Regions from separate parts of the Homo sapiens genome. Here regions 2, 3 and 4 are each linked to region 1. Evidence: promoter capture Hi-C in 16 types of primary human blood cells and fetal thymus (Javierre and others, 2016). All regions are on one chromosome and are shown on one strand. The core of a region is centred on a gene start or on the middle of the fragment in contact, and the rest is flanking DNA. Distances in the headings are between cores, read along the strand shown. Region 1 holds the start of TGFB2 (transforming growth factor beta 2). Region 2 overlaps LYPLAL1-DT (LYPLAL1 divergent transcript). Region 3 has its middle 120 kb from the start of LINC01710. Region 4 has its middle 23 kb from the start of LINC01710.

The links. Contacts are between HindIII fragments. The CHiCAGO score rates a contact against its expected background, and 5 or more counts as called.
Region 2: a contact is called between a fragment that was not itself captured here and the fragment with the promoter of TGFB2 in region 1, in 1 of 17 cell types (megakaryocytes). The highest score is 5.3, in megakaryocytes.
Region 3: a contact is called between a fragment that was not itself captured here and the fragment with the promoter of TGFB2 in region 1, in 1 of 17 cell types (endothelial precursors). The highest score is 5.5, in endothelial precursors.
Region 4: a fragment that was not itself captured here is called in contact with the fragment with the promoter of TGFB2 in region 1 in 1 of 17 cell types (endothelial precursors); the score reaches 5.3 in endothelial precursors.

Annotation. Positions count from the first base shown.
Region 1 is chr1:218,343,599-218,347,042 of GRCh38, reverse strand. TGFB2 (transforming growth factor beta 2) reads right to left here and starts at 1,707. Exons shown (of 7, transcript NM_003238.6): 1 at 1-1,707. The coding sequence starts at 341. It overlaps TGFB2-AS1 (TGFB2 antisense RNA 1), which reads left to right and starts at 1,365. Exons shown (of 3, transcript NR_046268.1): 1 at 1,365-1,440; 2 at 1,655-1,868; 3 at 2,581-2,847. RefSeq lists enhancers at 1-158, 1,290-1,339 and a silencer at 1,720-1,779. The HindIII fragment of the contact is 5,586 bases long and covers 1-3,444 here.
Region 2 is chr1:219,117,109-219,120,552 of GRCh38, reverse strand. All of the region lies in intron 3 of LYPLAL1-DT (LYPLAL1 divergent transcript), which reads left to right. Among named protein-coding and RNA genes, the nearest start is that of LYPLAL1-DT, 55 kb to the left of the region's middle. The HindIII fragment of the contact is 2,714 bases long and covers 223-2,936 here.
Region 3 is chr1:219,036,128-219,039,571 of GRCh38, reverse strand. No RefSeq gene overlaps it. Among named protein-coding and RNA genes, the nearest start is that of LINC01710, 120 kb to the right of the region's middle. The HindIII fragment of the contact is 408 bases long and covers 1,689-2,096 here.
Region 4 is chr1:218,939,790-218,943,233 of GRCh38, reverse strand. No RefSeq gene overlaps it. Among named protein-coding and RNA genes, the nearest start is that of LINC01710, 23 kb to the right of the region's middle. The HindIII fragment of the contact is 2,294 bases long and covers 415-2,708 here.

The DNA of each region.
Region 1 (3,444 bases), core at 458-2,957:
GAGGGGAAGAAGGGCGGCATGTCTATTTTGTAAACCTCCTTGGCGTAGTACTCTTCGTCGCTCCTCTCGCGCTCGCAGGCGGCCGCCCTCCGGCTCGCCTTCTCCTGGAGCAAGTCCCTGGTGCTGTTGTAGATGGAAATCACCTCCGGGGGGACTTCCTCGGGCTCAGGATAGTCTTCTGGGGGACTGGTGAGCTTCAGCTTGCTCAGGATCTGCCCGCGGATCGCCTCGATCCTCTTGCGCATGAACTGGTCCATATCGAGTGTGCTGCAGGTAGACAGGCTGAGCGCGACCGTGACCAGATGCAGGATCAGAAAAGCGCTCAGCACACAGTAGTGCATTTTTTAAAAAAGTGGAAAAAAAAGTTGTTTTTAAAAGTCAGAATAAAAAAAAGAAATCAACAATTCTCAAAGTATAGATCAAGGAGAGTTGTTTGGTTTTTTGTTGTTGTTGTTTTTGATGCGAAACTTTTGCAAACAATCTAGTCAATGCCCAACAGAAAAACGTATCCTGCTTGAATTCCTTTAAAAAGAAAAGGCCAGTAGTTCCAAAAGTGGAAATATTAATACGGGACGGGCAGAGGGAACCCTGACTTTGGCGAGTAAGAAGAAAAAAATTCTTGGAGCAATGAGATGGGGAAAAAAAGAGACGAGTGGCTATTAAGTAGAAATAAATTTAAGAGGAGGAAGTGGAGTTCAGTGTGTCAGTCTCGGGTGCGGAGTGGCGGATCTGAACTCGGCTCCTCCGGCCAAAAGGGAAGAGATGAAAAGGTCCCGGGGCTGGCAGCTGGCGAACTGACGGGAGGGGCGCCGGGAGCGCGGTGAGGGGGGCCGCCGAGGCTGACCTGGGCTGAAATTTATATATTTAAAGAAGGAGCGGTTCGGTCCTGCCTTCCACTGCGGCGCTGAGAGCAGGAGCAGCAGCAGCTCCGGAGCAGAGAAGCGCACACGTGTGTGCGTGCGTGTGTGTGTGTGTGTGTGTGTGTGCGTGTGCGCGCGCTGGGGGCGAGCCCAGCGCACCGCGGGGAGGAGGGTGCGCTTCGCAGGGCGCTCGGTACTCGGTCGGGTGCCGCAGGGGCCGCAGAGGCTGCTGAGGCGGCGCGGATCCTGCTCTGGGAGCTGCGCTCCGTGGCCTACACCCTGGCGGGCGCGCGCTGACCCGCTTGGTTACTCCACGTTGCTGCCGCCGCCGCTTGCAAACGCTTCCAGCCTCCAGCTCCCTCCTTCTCCTGCTCCTCCTTCTCTTGCTCCAAACGCCAACCCAGCCACAGACGATCAGCCGTCGCGGTTGCGTTCACCCCCTGCGGATCACAACGGCAGCCCTTGCGACACCCTGGCTGGGGAGTTTTATTCCTGAGGGGGTTGCGCAGGGGCTCCCTTGGACTCCCACCCTTTCCCAACCTCTGCTGGCTTCTCCCCAACGTGGAATTGCTCGCTTAGGGTAGGTAGGCACTTGCCACCCTAAAATAGATCCTCTCTGTCTCCTCCTGTCTGCAGCCGGGCAGCCCCTCAGTTTGTTCCTGGATGACTCCCTAGACCGTCAGGCTAATATTCTCCATCCCCCTCCCCTGCCTCTTTCACTTGCGCTCTCGCTCTGCTGTCTCTTTCTCTCTTTCTCTTTCTATCTCTATCTCAATCTGTCTTTCTCTTGTCAGGAGCTTCTGGAGCTCCGCTCGGAGCGAACCTTCTGCTGCCAGCAGATAACATCACGATCTTGCCGGGGAGGGGAGATTTATAAGTTCTCTCTGAACCACGTGTCTGCCTTCAACAAAGTGACGTGCTAGGATTACAGTCAGAAGTCCTCTCGTTACTTAGACCACGAGCTCTCCCCGAACCGTTGAGGGAGTGTGGAAATGAGGACCGCTGTGGGTAAGGGAGGAAGGAGGTGGAATGTGCGCCCTGACAACAGTGATTTACGGTATTTACTTTCCAGTCATTTTGGACAGGTCTGTTGAAGGAAGGACAATCAAGTCTCCCGTTTTTACTTAGTGTAGCTCAGTCACAGCCTCCCAAGCTGAATCACTTGCTCTAGAAGGGAAGGCTTCCCTCCTGTATTATGTGTGCACACGCACCCCTATGGGAGGGAGCACTAGTCTACTCAGGGCCAGGCCAGTACTGAAGACATACCTTCCAATCTTTTAAATTCATGTCCTACCTCTTATTTTCTGGGATACCTTAGCAGGTTGCCATCCCAGAATTTATTTTGTTAGTTTGTTGTTTACAATGTACCCCTCTGTTTGTGAACTGCTGGAAAACAGAGATCCATCAATTTTACCTAAAGAATAAGGTATACTTGTTTGTTTTACTGATTTGAATGAATGGTCACCTTTATAATTTGCTGCCTAAGCCACTTCTTGTATGGCTTTCTTCTTCACCTTCTTGCTAGGCTAAACATTATCAACCAACTTCATTCTTTCCATAGCATTAATCCAGGAAGCTGGAATTTTAAGTGTTTGATGTCTACTGTTCTACACTACTCATAACTTGACATTTTCAATTTCAACTAAGTCTAAATTAGATGAATACAAGAATAACTCTTACCACTGTTCCACCTTCCCTTTTTCTTTTATTTTACCTTTAGTTACTCAAAGTCAACATTTTCATTTCGGCATGACTCTGCAGCCATACTGACCAGACAGATGATTTAAACTGGAAACTCTGTTGAATGTACTCCCAAACCCAAGATCTCTATACTGTTCTCTACTTCAGATGTTCCTGAGTTCAGAAAAGTCACAAAGAACTTTCTATCACTTTTGGAATTTATACTTCAGTTGTGTATGGGGCCTAGGTTATTAGTAGAGCACTGAATAAATAAAATAATAATAGCTAACATATACTACACTTAGTAATTTGATGTGTGTTGTGTATGGTCATTTAATCTTCACTATGAACCTATAAAGTGGGTCTTATTATCCATATCTGGCAGATGAGGAGACTGAGGTACAAAGAAGTTAAGTACTTTGTTCGAGACCACAGTAAGTGGTAGAGCTGGATTTTTGCAGTCAGGATCCACTATGTTCTTACCTACTATGTACTTCTGAGAAACAATGGTCCCAGAATATGTTCTGACAAACAGGAATTCTGGAGTCAAACAAGTTTGGGAGATACTGGGTACTCTCCTGTCCTCTTAGATTCCTCATTCTGGAACATTATCATGTTAAAGGCTCTGAAACTCCTGTAGAAGAGAAAACCTTTTCACTCTTTTAACCCAGCATTTTCCAAACTCCCTTGAATACAGAATTTTTTCCATTATCACACATTGAAAAACTCTGGAATAAAATAATTGTTCCAACCCACTTCTGAATAATTCTAAAAATTATGTATAAATCAGCACCAGCAGGTTCCTTTCCTTGATACCAGTTTTGAGTTGAAGCAAAGCTACCATCCCAGTAGCCCAAGAAAAAGATAATCAAGAGGCGCTACTGTCAGACTAGTAGTTTCATCC
Region 2 (3,444 bases), core at 330-2,829, 770 kb before region 1:
AAATTTCCTCCCTGACTCCACCTACCCTTCCTTTATCCCTGAACTTACAGTTTCAGTTTGATGTCCCTCTTCTATGCTCTCTCAGTGCCATATAATTATTACTATTATTGGTTATCTCTCTAAATTTTAATTATATGTTTATATCTTCTCAACAATTAAATTTATCCTTTATGACAATTAGTAGCAGTGTAACTTCATAGTTAATCATAAAATTAATAAGCTTTATTTGCTTCTCCTGCTAGAAAGCTACATGTAAGCAAAGACTATTGGTTCTGTTCATCGTATAGTCCTATACCTGCTTGGATCCTGCATATATTAGACACTTAAAACATATTTGGTGAATTGAAGAATGAATGAATGTGAGTGAGCTATTCAAACACAAGGACTGGATCTTATTTCTCTCCATTCCCAATATTTAATTGTCTTCTTGGTAGAGGGACTGAGAATCCTAATACTTTCAAAGGCTAGGCAGATGACATAAATGTGTGAAGCAACCCTGCCCCTTGTAAACCTGTCAAGAGTGATGAGCTTGCAACAACCAGAAAGGCATGTATTGCTTAAAATCATGCACACTAAAAACACTTTTCTTGGTGAAAAAAAAAAAATGTCTGCAAGCTAGATTTTCAACTGGTCCACCAGTTTTATTGCTATTTCTAGGTTTTTAGTAAATATTGGTTAAAAATTAAATATTTTTGTTAATTCTTCTCTGTAGTCTTTGCTCAAAGTATTATTTCTCCATGTAACATTTTACTTTCAAAAACTCATTTATTCCTCTTTGTCATCTGTCTTGGCATATGCCTATTCTATATAGCACTACTGAAATCTATCTAAAATGCTGTCATCCCTATCAAAATATTCTTTCTCCAGGAAAGCACCAAAAAGTAGAGGTTTCAATAATGAGCTCTAGTGCCAGCTGTTCACCTGCTATGCACTAGCTATGGGAGATCTGGACAAGTATCCAATCTGTATTTCACTTTGCCCACCTGAAAATAGGGATACTTTTAGATCTCATAGGGATACTTTATGTATCTCATAATATCATTATGAGATGCATAATGCACAGTGTGTGGAACAAACTAAGTGCAATAGAAGTATTTGTTAAATAAACTTTTTAGAAAATAAAATGAATTAGATGTAATCTTGCCTCCTTTTTTTATATATATGACTTCTGTGAAATTGTTGACTATGGATTGTTCAGTACATATTATTCACATTGCTGTAAAAGTGCAGTAAATTAAAAAATTCAACTGGGGTAAAAGGATACTGAATCCAGATGAAAATCTGGCGGTGGGGGGCGGGGGTGGTGTCAGGAGAAAACATTCTGCTTTATTTTTCTCTTTAGCACTTATGACATAATACATATTTATTTATTTGCTTATCGACCTCACTCCACTAGGATATGTTCAATGAAAGCAGGTAAATTGTTTTGTTCACTGTTATACCTCCAGTGCCTTGCATATATTGAGTGCTTAGTAAGTAGTTCTTGACTGAATGAATGAATAATACATTTGAAAGGCAGTCATATTCTTAGTTGAATTTTAATGAATATTGGATAGCTTGGAGTTTGAGGTTTTCTTCTTTGGACAATATCTAAAATGGAGTTGTGATATCACTCCATTTCTCTTTTCTTTATGATATAAAGTAATTAATTTTTCCTGCTCTGAGGGCCTAGAAGATGCTGCCATGTATATATTTTTTATTTTATTTTATTTTATTTTATTTTTTAAAATTTAACTTCTATTTTAAGTGCAAGGGTACATGTTCAAGTTTGTTAAATAGGTAAACTTGTGTCATAGGGGTTTGTTTTACATATTATTTGGTTACACAGGTATTAAGCCTGGCACCCATTAATTACTTTTCCTGACCTTCTTCTTCCCTCTTTCCCTTCACCCTCTGACAGGCCCCAGTGTGTGTTGTTCTCTTCTTTGTGTCCATGTGTTCTCATCACTTAGCTCCCACTTATAAGTGAGAACATGTGGTATTTGGTTTTCCATTCCTGAGTTAGTTTGCTAAGGATAATGGTCTCCAGCTCCATTCTTTTGCTTAGGATTGCCTTGGCTGTTAAGGCTCTTTCTGGGTCCATATGAATTTTAAAATAGCTTTTCTAGTTCTGTGAAGAATGTCAGTGGTAGTTTAATAGGAATAGCATAGAATCTATAAATTGCTTTGGGCAGTATGGCCATTTTCACGACGTTGTTTCTTCCTATCCATGAGCATGGAATGTTTTTCCATTTGTTTGTGTCATCTCTGATTTCTTTGAGCAATGTTTTGGGGTTCTTCTTCAGAGATTTTTCACCTCCTTGATTAGCTATATTCTTAGGTATTTTGTGCATGTGTGCATGTGTGTGTGTGTGTGTGTCTGGCAATTGTGAATGGGATTGTATTCCTGATTTGGCTCTCGGCTTGACTGTTGTTGGTGTATAGGAATGTTAGTGATTTTTATTGTGATACATTGATTTTGTATCCTGAGACTTTGCTGAAGTTGTTTATCAGCTTAAGGAGCTTTTGGGCCAAGACTATGGGGTTTTCTAGATAGAGAATCATGTCATCTGCAAACATGGGTAGTTTGACTTCCTCTCTGCATATTTGGATGACCTTTATTTTTTTCTTTTGCCTGATTGCCCTGGGCAGGACTTACAATACTAGATTGAATAGGAGTGGTGAGAAAGGGCATCATCATCTTGTGCCATTTTTCAAAGGGAATGCTTCCAGCTTTCGCCCACTCAGTATGATTTTGGCTGTGTGTTTGTCATAGAGAGTTTTTAACATGAAGGGGTCTTGAATTTTATAGAAAGCCTTCTCTAGATTTATTGAGATAATCGTGTGGTTTTTGTCTTTAGTTCTGTTTATCTGATTAATCACATTTATTGATTTGCCTATGTTAAACCAACCTTGCATCTCAGAGATAAAGCCTACTTGATTGTGGTTGATAAGCTTTTTGATGTGCTGCTGGATTTGGTTTGCTAGTATTTTGTTGAGGATTTTTGCATCGATGTTCATCAAGGATATTGGCTTAAAGTTTCCTTTTTTGTTATGTCCCTGCCAGGTTTTGGTATTAGAATGATGCTGGTCTCATAGAATGAGTTAGGGAGGAGTCTCTCCTTTTCAATTGTTTGGAATAGTTTCAGCAGGAATGGTACTAGCTCTTCTTTGTACCTCTGGTAGAATTCAGCTGTGAATTTGTCCGGTCTTGGGCACTTTTTGGTTGGTAGGCTATTCCTTTCTGAGTCCATTTCAGAGCTGGTTATTGGTCTGTTTAGGGATTATATTTCTTCCTGGCTCAGACTTGGGAGGTTATGTGTGTCCAGGATTTTATCCATTTCTCCTAGATTTTCTAGGTCATGTGCAGAGAGATGTTCATAATATTATCTGATGTTTGTTTTTATTTCTCTGGGGTCAGTGGCAGTATCCCCTTTGTCATTTTGGATTGCATTTGTTTGGATC
Region 3 (3,444 bases), core at 643-3,142, 690 kb before region 1:
AAGGCGAAGGAGAGGCAAGCACCTTCTTACATGGCAGCAGGAGACAGAGCACGTGCTGCAGTGGGGGTGAGGAGTGCCACTTCTAAAACCATCATATCTAAGAGAATTCCCTCACTATCATCAGAACAGCATGAGGGAAACCACCCCCATGATCCAATCACCTCCCACCGGGTTCCTCTCTTGACACGCAGAGATTACAATTTGGGATAAGATTTGAGTGGGGACACAGAGCCAAACCATTTCAGTACCCAAATGCCTGCAAATTCCAAGAGCTGGTGTTTGTGCCTCCTGAAGTAAAAACCACTTACTGCAATTGCTGTCACTTACCTTTAAAACTGCAGTTCTTGCCAGTAATTCATTAGCTCCTGCAAACCCAAAGGTCAAGTACCCTCTCACAACACAAGCTAACGCTGGATTTGAAAGCCATAAGATCAAACAGCTCAATGAAAAAAGGACAGAATTTGACCTAAGAGAAACTTGCAATCCCCAGGCTCTGTGAAGACCGAGAACCTTAAAAGGGGTCAGCAGTGTCTCTCTTGTGTTCCTCAAGGGACATGTCACTGGGGTCCCTTCATGGTTGCCAGAACTATAAAAGATAAAATTACAACAAATTTAGTTTCAAGATCTTAATTGGCTTTTGTAATTCTAGAGTTAGAAACACCTTATTCTATAAAATAGAATGAGTGTTACAATGGGCTTAGTAGAGGAGATTGGTTTTGTAGAGAGAAATGGGTTGATGAAAGCAGAAACAGAGAACAAAAAGTGGATTGGTTGTTTCAAAGTTACTTTTCTTGCAGAGATTAAAAGCAGGGAGGGCTTTCTTATCATACCAGTTAAAACTGGTCGGTTTGGGGTTTTGGCTATTATCTCTCATGCTTCTGGTTTCTCAGAACGTCAGATGTGAAGTCAGTTTTGGCTTGGGGTGTGGAACTTTAGCATGAGTGCCTCCATTTTGGTTTGGTCTGTTGGGACTAAGTGCAGGAACTTAGTCCAAACCAGTGGCTTCCTATGCATTTTATTTAACAAGAGTTATGAGCATATTTGTTGACAACTTACTCCATAGCAATAGACAAGATGTAGAGAGAGAAGAAAAGTGAGCCAAATGGTATACAAAGCATACACCAGTCTCCAAGTCTTTTCAGATGCTTTCTCTTTGCCTGAGTGGCCTTCCTTCAGATAGCTCTTTTTTGTACCCTCACTTCCTTAAGTTTTAATTACCTGCCAATCTTACTAATACTATGCCCCTTCCCAGGACTTTCATCCCTCTGCTTTAGTTCTCCACATAGCACTTAGAGCTAATATATTGAATATTTAAATTATTTGTATTGCTTATCTGCTTACTCCCAATACGAGTTGTGTTTCATGAGAGCAGGATTTGGGGTTTTCTTCCTTTGTTTATTGCTTTGAATTCGGTGCATGTAACAGTGCCAGGCACACAAAATGTGCTCAATGTACATGTACTATGTGGATGAAAAGTCCGGAAAATACCAAATAATGCAGGATCATTCAGAGTAAACAAAGGTCAAAGCAAAAATTGATAAGATGTAACTGCAACTGGAGCATCAAGAGATGAAGTATTTCTAGATGGAGTATTGAGAAAAACCAATGCCACAGAGGATTAACAAAGAAAGAGCTTCAAGGAGAGAACAGCGACCAAAACTACTAGAACATAATAGAGATACTAAGCTTTCTTCAGATGAGAAGATAAGTTCAGATAAGAACTGAAATTTCAACTGGGTAAAAACAATATCGAATTTGAATTTGAATGGATAAAAGTCCCTAGGCATCATGCATTCAGACTTAATGCATGTAAAAATTTCTGTGGAAACCTGTTTCCCACAATGGAAGCAGGAAGTAAAGAAAACCTACAAGAGCATCTGTTCTCATGAGATTTTCAGGCTTGAATCACAAATTAAAGGAAGTTTGGATAGTTCGAGTAAAGTTCAGATGACAAAGTTCAGGTACTTATCTGAATTTTGATGGGAGTTACTAAAACCAAAATATACGATATACTACAGTTTATCTCCTAAAGATAAAAATTTATTTGAGAGCACTGACCATAATGGTAGTCACATCGAACGTGTAGTTACAAAGCTTTCATATATGCTCTACATACTATAGTTGAAATGGAGAAAACACATAGGATTTTTTCTATTGTTATAGTTATTAGAGGCAAAATTAAACAAATCACATTAATCTGTTTGCCTGATATTTAACAAGCCAACCTGTTTGTATACTTTTTAGTTTTAAAGTAACATTTCATTAGCTGTAATATAAGTGAAATTTGAAAGTAAGATCAAAGGCATTAAGACAAATGACACTGAGAATAACTTTAAACCTTTTACAGATGCACATCAATAGAGTTTTTATTATAATACAAAACAATAGCTTTTTAGGTACTAAAAAAACATTTTTTTTACTACACAAAAAACAAGCCCAATGATATAGAGTATAAATTATATGTTAGATTGCATTTCAGTTTTGATGCAGAAGAACAAAATATTCCTTTCTGTTTATATCATTTTTTGCTAAAATTGATCTATATTTCAAAGCAATCAACAGATAATGCACACTCTGGGAAGCAACCCAATGGGAAGAGGACTTAAATCCGTGGTATAAACCAGAATTGGGTAAATTTAACTGAATTTTGGTTTGGCTAACACTTTAAGCCATTTCAAAATTTCTATATTCAGCAAAATCTGAAATGCATATTGTACAGCCCAGTTCTCTCCTTTCTTTTAAACTTATGTGCAGTTAATAGGACATAGAATCCATAAATCCTTATGCTTTTATAGCTAACTCATTGTCATGCCTCATGAAATCTATGCAATCTTCAGAATGCCGAGAGATCCAAACTTTCTCAAAAAGTGACTCTCATAAGGAATACCCCAAACTGAAACCTTAAGCTCTAAATATATGAAATGTTCAAACCTAAATTGATTACTAGGGCATTATGCTCTAAGTAACACTCTTCTATCTTGAATTGAAATATGATACCTAAAGAAGGGACCTCTGGCAGAAACACCAACCTAAAAAAGATGTCTTTCAAAACAGTGCTACACTATTTTTTTTCAGTAGTCTCTAGGCAGCTTTTTTGAGATGGAGTCCCACTCTGTTGCCCAGGCTGGAGTGCAGTGGTACAATCTCAGCTCACTGCAACCTCCAACTCCTGGGTTCAAGTGATTCTCTTGCCTCAGCCTCCCAAATAGCTGGGATTACAGGTGCCTGCCACGATTGCCAGCTAATTTTTTTTTTTTTTTTTTTTGGTAGAGACGGGGTTTCGCCATGTTGGCCAGGCTGGTCTCGAACTCCTGACCTCAGGTGATCTGCCAGCCTCGGCCTCCCAAAGTGCTGGGATTACAGGCATGAGTCACTGTGCCTGGCCTTTAGGAAGCTTTTTATCTTGGTTCCTAAAAAGCTCATTTCAAATAATTTTGTCACAGA
Region 4 (3,444 bases), core at 312-2,811, 600 kb before region 1:
AGGTCAGGGTCAGAATGAGAGTTGGGGAACTATTTATGTAGACATAGCAGCTGAGAGTAAGTGTGATGTCGAGGGAAGAGCTGATATGGAAAGAAAAATAAATGATGGCCTTTGGGAAATTCATGTGCCTAGGGTCTGAAAACAGCAAAGAGTTAGAGAAAATGTCAAAGAAGAGGACAAACAATAAGAATGAATAGTGTAGTTTAGTAAGGCAAGAGAGAAAAGATTTCACATTCTACAGCAACAGCTCCAATCTGATAAATATTTTCTGCACTGGAGCCCTGAATGATCTTGAACTATGGAAGGTTTTATTATGCTCATTTTTTCTGTGTTTGCTGGCAAAGCACAGTGTCAGGCTACACCTTCAGATAATGTTTTCACAGTAAGCGCTAAGGCGCTTTTTCTGGTAAAGCTTTAGTGTAAAACTCACTTAGAAAGCAATCCAGATGCCAGATCCCATTTCTGGTGACCTTCATAATAGCTTAGAAATGGCATCCACCCTAAAGATTCCGTGCAAGGGATCTAAAATAGAAACTCAGAAAGTCAGCAACCCACAGCAAGCCTCCACCCTTTTCTCATCTTCCTTTGTTTTCATTTGGTCGTTACTGGGAGCCCCTGTTCTAAGGAGGGTTCCCTTCCTTCCTGCCAACCCCTGAACTCCGGCATCCTGCCCAGTGCTGAATAATAATCCAGAATTCTTTCCCCAGAGAGACAAAATTGGGAGGCGATAAATCATGGACTGCTCTTTGGTATCCTGGCTCATCATTCGTAAATAAAGCCAACAATAGATACAAATGGAGTCATTTGTGTAGAAGCAGTTCTGATGCACTGGAATTCTCCAGAGTTTTCTGCTTAAATAAAATCTTCGGGGTATCTGCTTTTTGATGAAGATCACTATCTGTCTAAATTTAAAAAAAAATATGAGTAAAAGGAAATTACATTTTGGATTCAGAAAAAAAAGTATTTTCCAAATAATAAATAACTTCCAACCCAATTTTTAGCTGTTTGGGTCTTAAATAAGTTAGACCTCAGTTTATTTTCAAGCATCTAAGAACACTGTAGCACATTCTTTACTGTTTAAAGTGAAATGGATTGTTAATAATGTGACTTGATTATTCTCTCACTGGAAATTTCTATGTTTTCACCACCCCACACCCAGCTCTTGCAGAAAGAAGCATGATTCTAAAATGAGAAGATGCTGGGAGAGGAGAGTGGTCAAATACGGAAAATGGACAACCTTAGGGCACAGAAGAATAATTGTATCTTTGTTACTTTCCCATTTCCTTTTTTGGACCATATGGAAACCTCTGCTTCCAACACAGCATCCTAGAGGCATGCTTCCTTTGGTGGCTTAAAGTGTCACATAGAAATATTCAGTCCCCAAACTGCCTTCTGTAGGCAATACACAATCAATCAAATGAAATTCATAGATCTCCTTTCCCTTTGTCTTCAGTCTCTGCCTCACTTCTACTGCTAAGTTATTTAATTAAATTCACTTATACCCCCTCTTCAAAGCATATTACCAATGGCTCATGGAGAAATATCAAATCAATATTAGAACGCATATGATGTATTAGTCTGTTTTCATGCTGCTGATAAAGACATACCCGAGACTGGGCATTACAAAGAGGTTTATAATGGACTTACCGTTCCACATGGCTGCGTAAGGCTCACAATCATGGTGGAAGGCAAGGAGGAATAAGTCACATCTTACATGGATGGCAGCAGGCAAAGAGAGAGTTTGTGTAGGGAAACTCCCCCTTTTAAAACCGTCAGACCTCATGAGACTCATTCACTGTCACAAGAATAGTGCAGAAAATACCTGTCCTCATAATTCAGTCAACTCCCACAGGGCTCCTCCCACAAGATGTGGGAATTGTGGGAGTTACAATTAAAGATGAGATTTGGGTGGGGACACAGAGCCAAACCATGTCATTCCACCCCGTCCCCTCCCAAATCTCATGTCATCACATTTTAAAACCAATCATGCCTTCCCAACAGTCCCCCAAAGTCTTAACTTTTTTCAGCATTAACTCAAAATCCACAGTCCAACGTGTTATCTGAGACAAGGCAAGTACCTAATGCCCATGAGCCCATAAAATCAAAAACAAGTTAGTTACTTCCTAGATACAATGGGGTACAGGCATTGGGTAAATACAGCCATTCTAAATGGGGACATTGGCCAAAACAAAAAGGCTTCAGGCCCCATGCAAGTCCAAAATCCAGCAGAGCAGTCAAACCTTAAAGCTCCAAAATGATCTCCTTTGTCTCCATGTCTCACATCCAGGTTATGCTGATGCAAGTGGTGAGTTCCCATGGTCTTGGGCAGCTCCTCCCCTGTGGCTTTGCAGGGTACAGCCTCCCTCCTGGCTGCTTTCACAGGCTCTTGTTGAGTGTCTGCAGCTTTTCCAGGTGCACAGTGTAAGCTGTCAGTGGATCTACAATTCTGGGGTCTGGAGGATGGTGGCCTACTTCTCACAGCTCCACTAAACAATGCCCCAGTAGGGACTCTGTGTGGTGGCTCTGACCCCATATTTACCTCCCATACTGCCCTAGCAGAGGTTCTCCAGGAGAACCTTGCCCTTTAGCAAACTTCTGCCTGGAGTTCCAGGCATTTCCATACATCCTGTGAAATCTAGGCAGAGGTTCCTAAACCACTGACTTCTGTGCACTGGCAGGCTCAAGATCACATGGAAGATGCCAAAGCTTGAGGCTTGCACCCTCAGAAACCATGCCCCAAGCTCTACATTGAAGTCCCTAGGCTTCACACCGCACAGGGACCCTGGATCTGGCCCACAAAATCATTTTTCCCCCTAGGTCTCTGGGCCTGTGATGGAAGGGGCTGCTGTGAAGACCTCTGACATGCCCTGAGACATTTTCCCCTTTGTCTTGAGGATTAACATTCAGCTCCACGTTATTTATGCAAATTTCTGCAGCCAACTTGAATTTCTCCTCAGAAAATGGAATCTTCTTTTCTATCGCATTGTCAGGCTGAAAATTTTCCAAACGTTTATGCTCTGTTTCCCTTTTGAAACTGAATGCCTTTAACAGCACCCAAGTCACCTCTTGAATGCTTTGCTGCTTAGAAATTTCTTCCACCAGATACCGTAAATCATGTCTCTCAAGTTTAAATTTCCACAAATCTCTAGGGAAGGGGCAAAATGCCACCAGTCTCTTTGCTAAAGCATACCAGCAATCACCTTTGCTCCAGTTCCCAACAAGTTCTTCATTTCCATCTGAGACCACCTCAACCTGGATTTCATTGTCCATATAATTATCAGCATTTTGGTCAAAGCCATTCAACAAGTCTCTAGGGAGTTCCAAACTTTCCCACATTTTCCTGTCTTCTGAGCCCTCCGAACTGTTCCAGCCTCACCTGTTACCCAGTTCCAAAGTCACTTCCACATTGTCGAGTATCTTTTCAGCAACGTCCTACTCTATTAG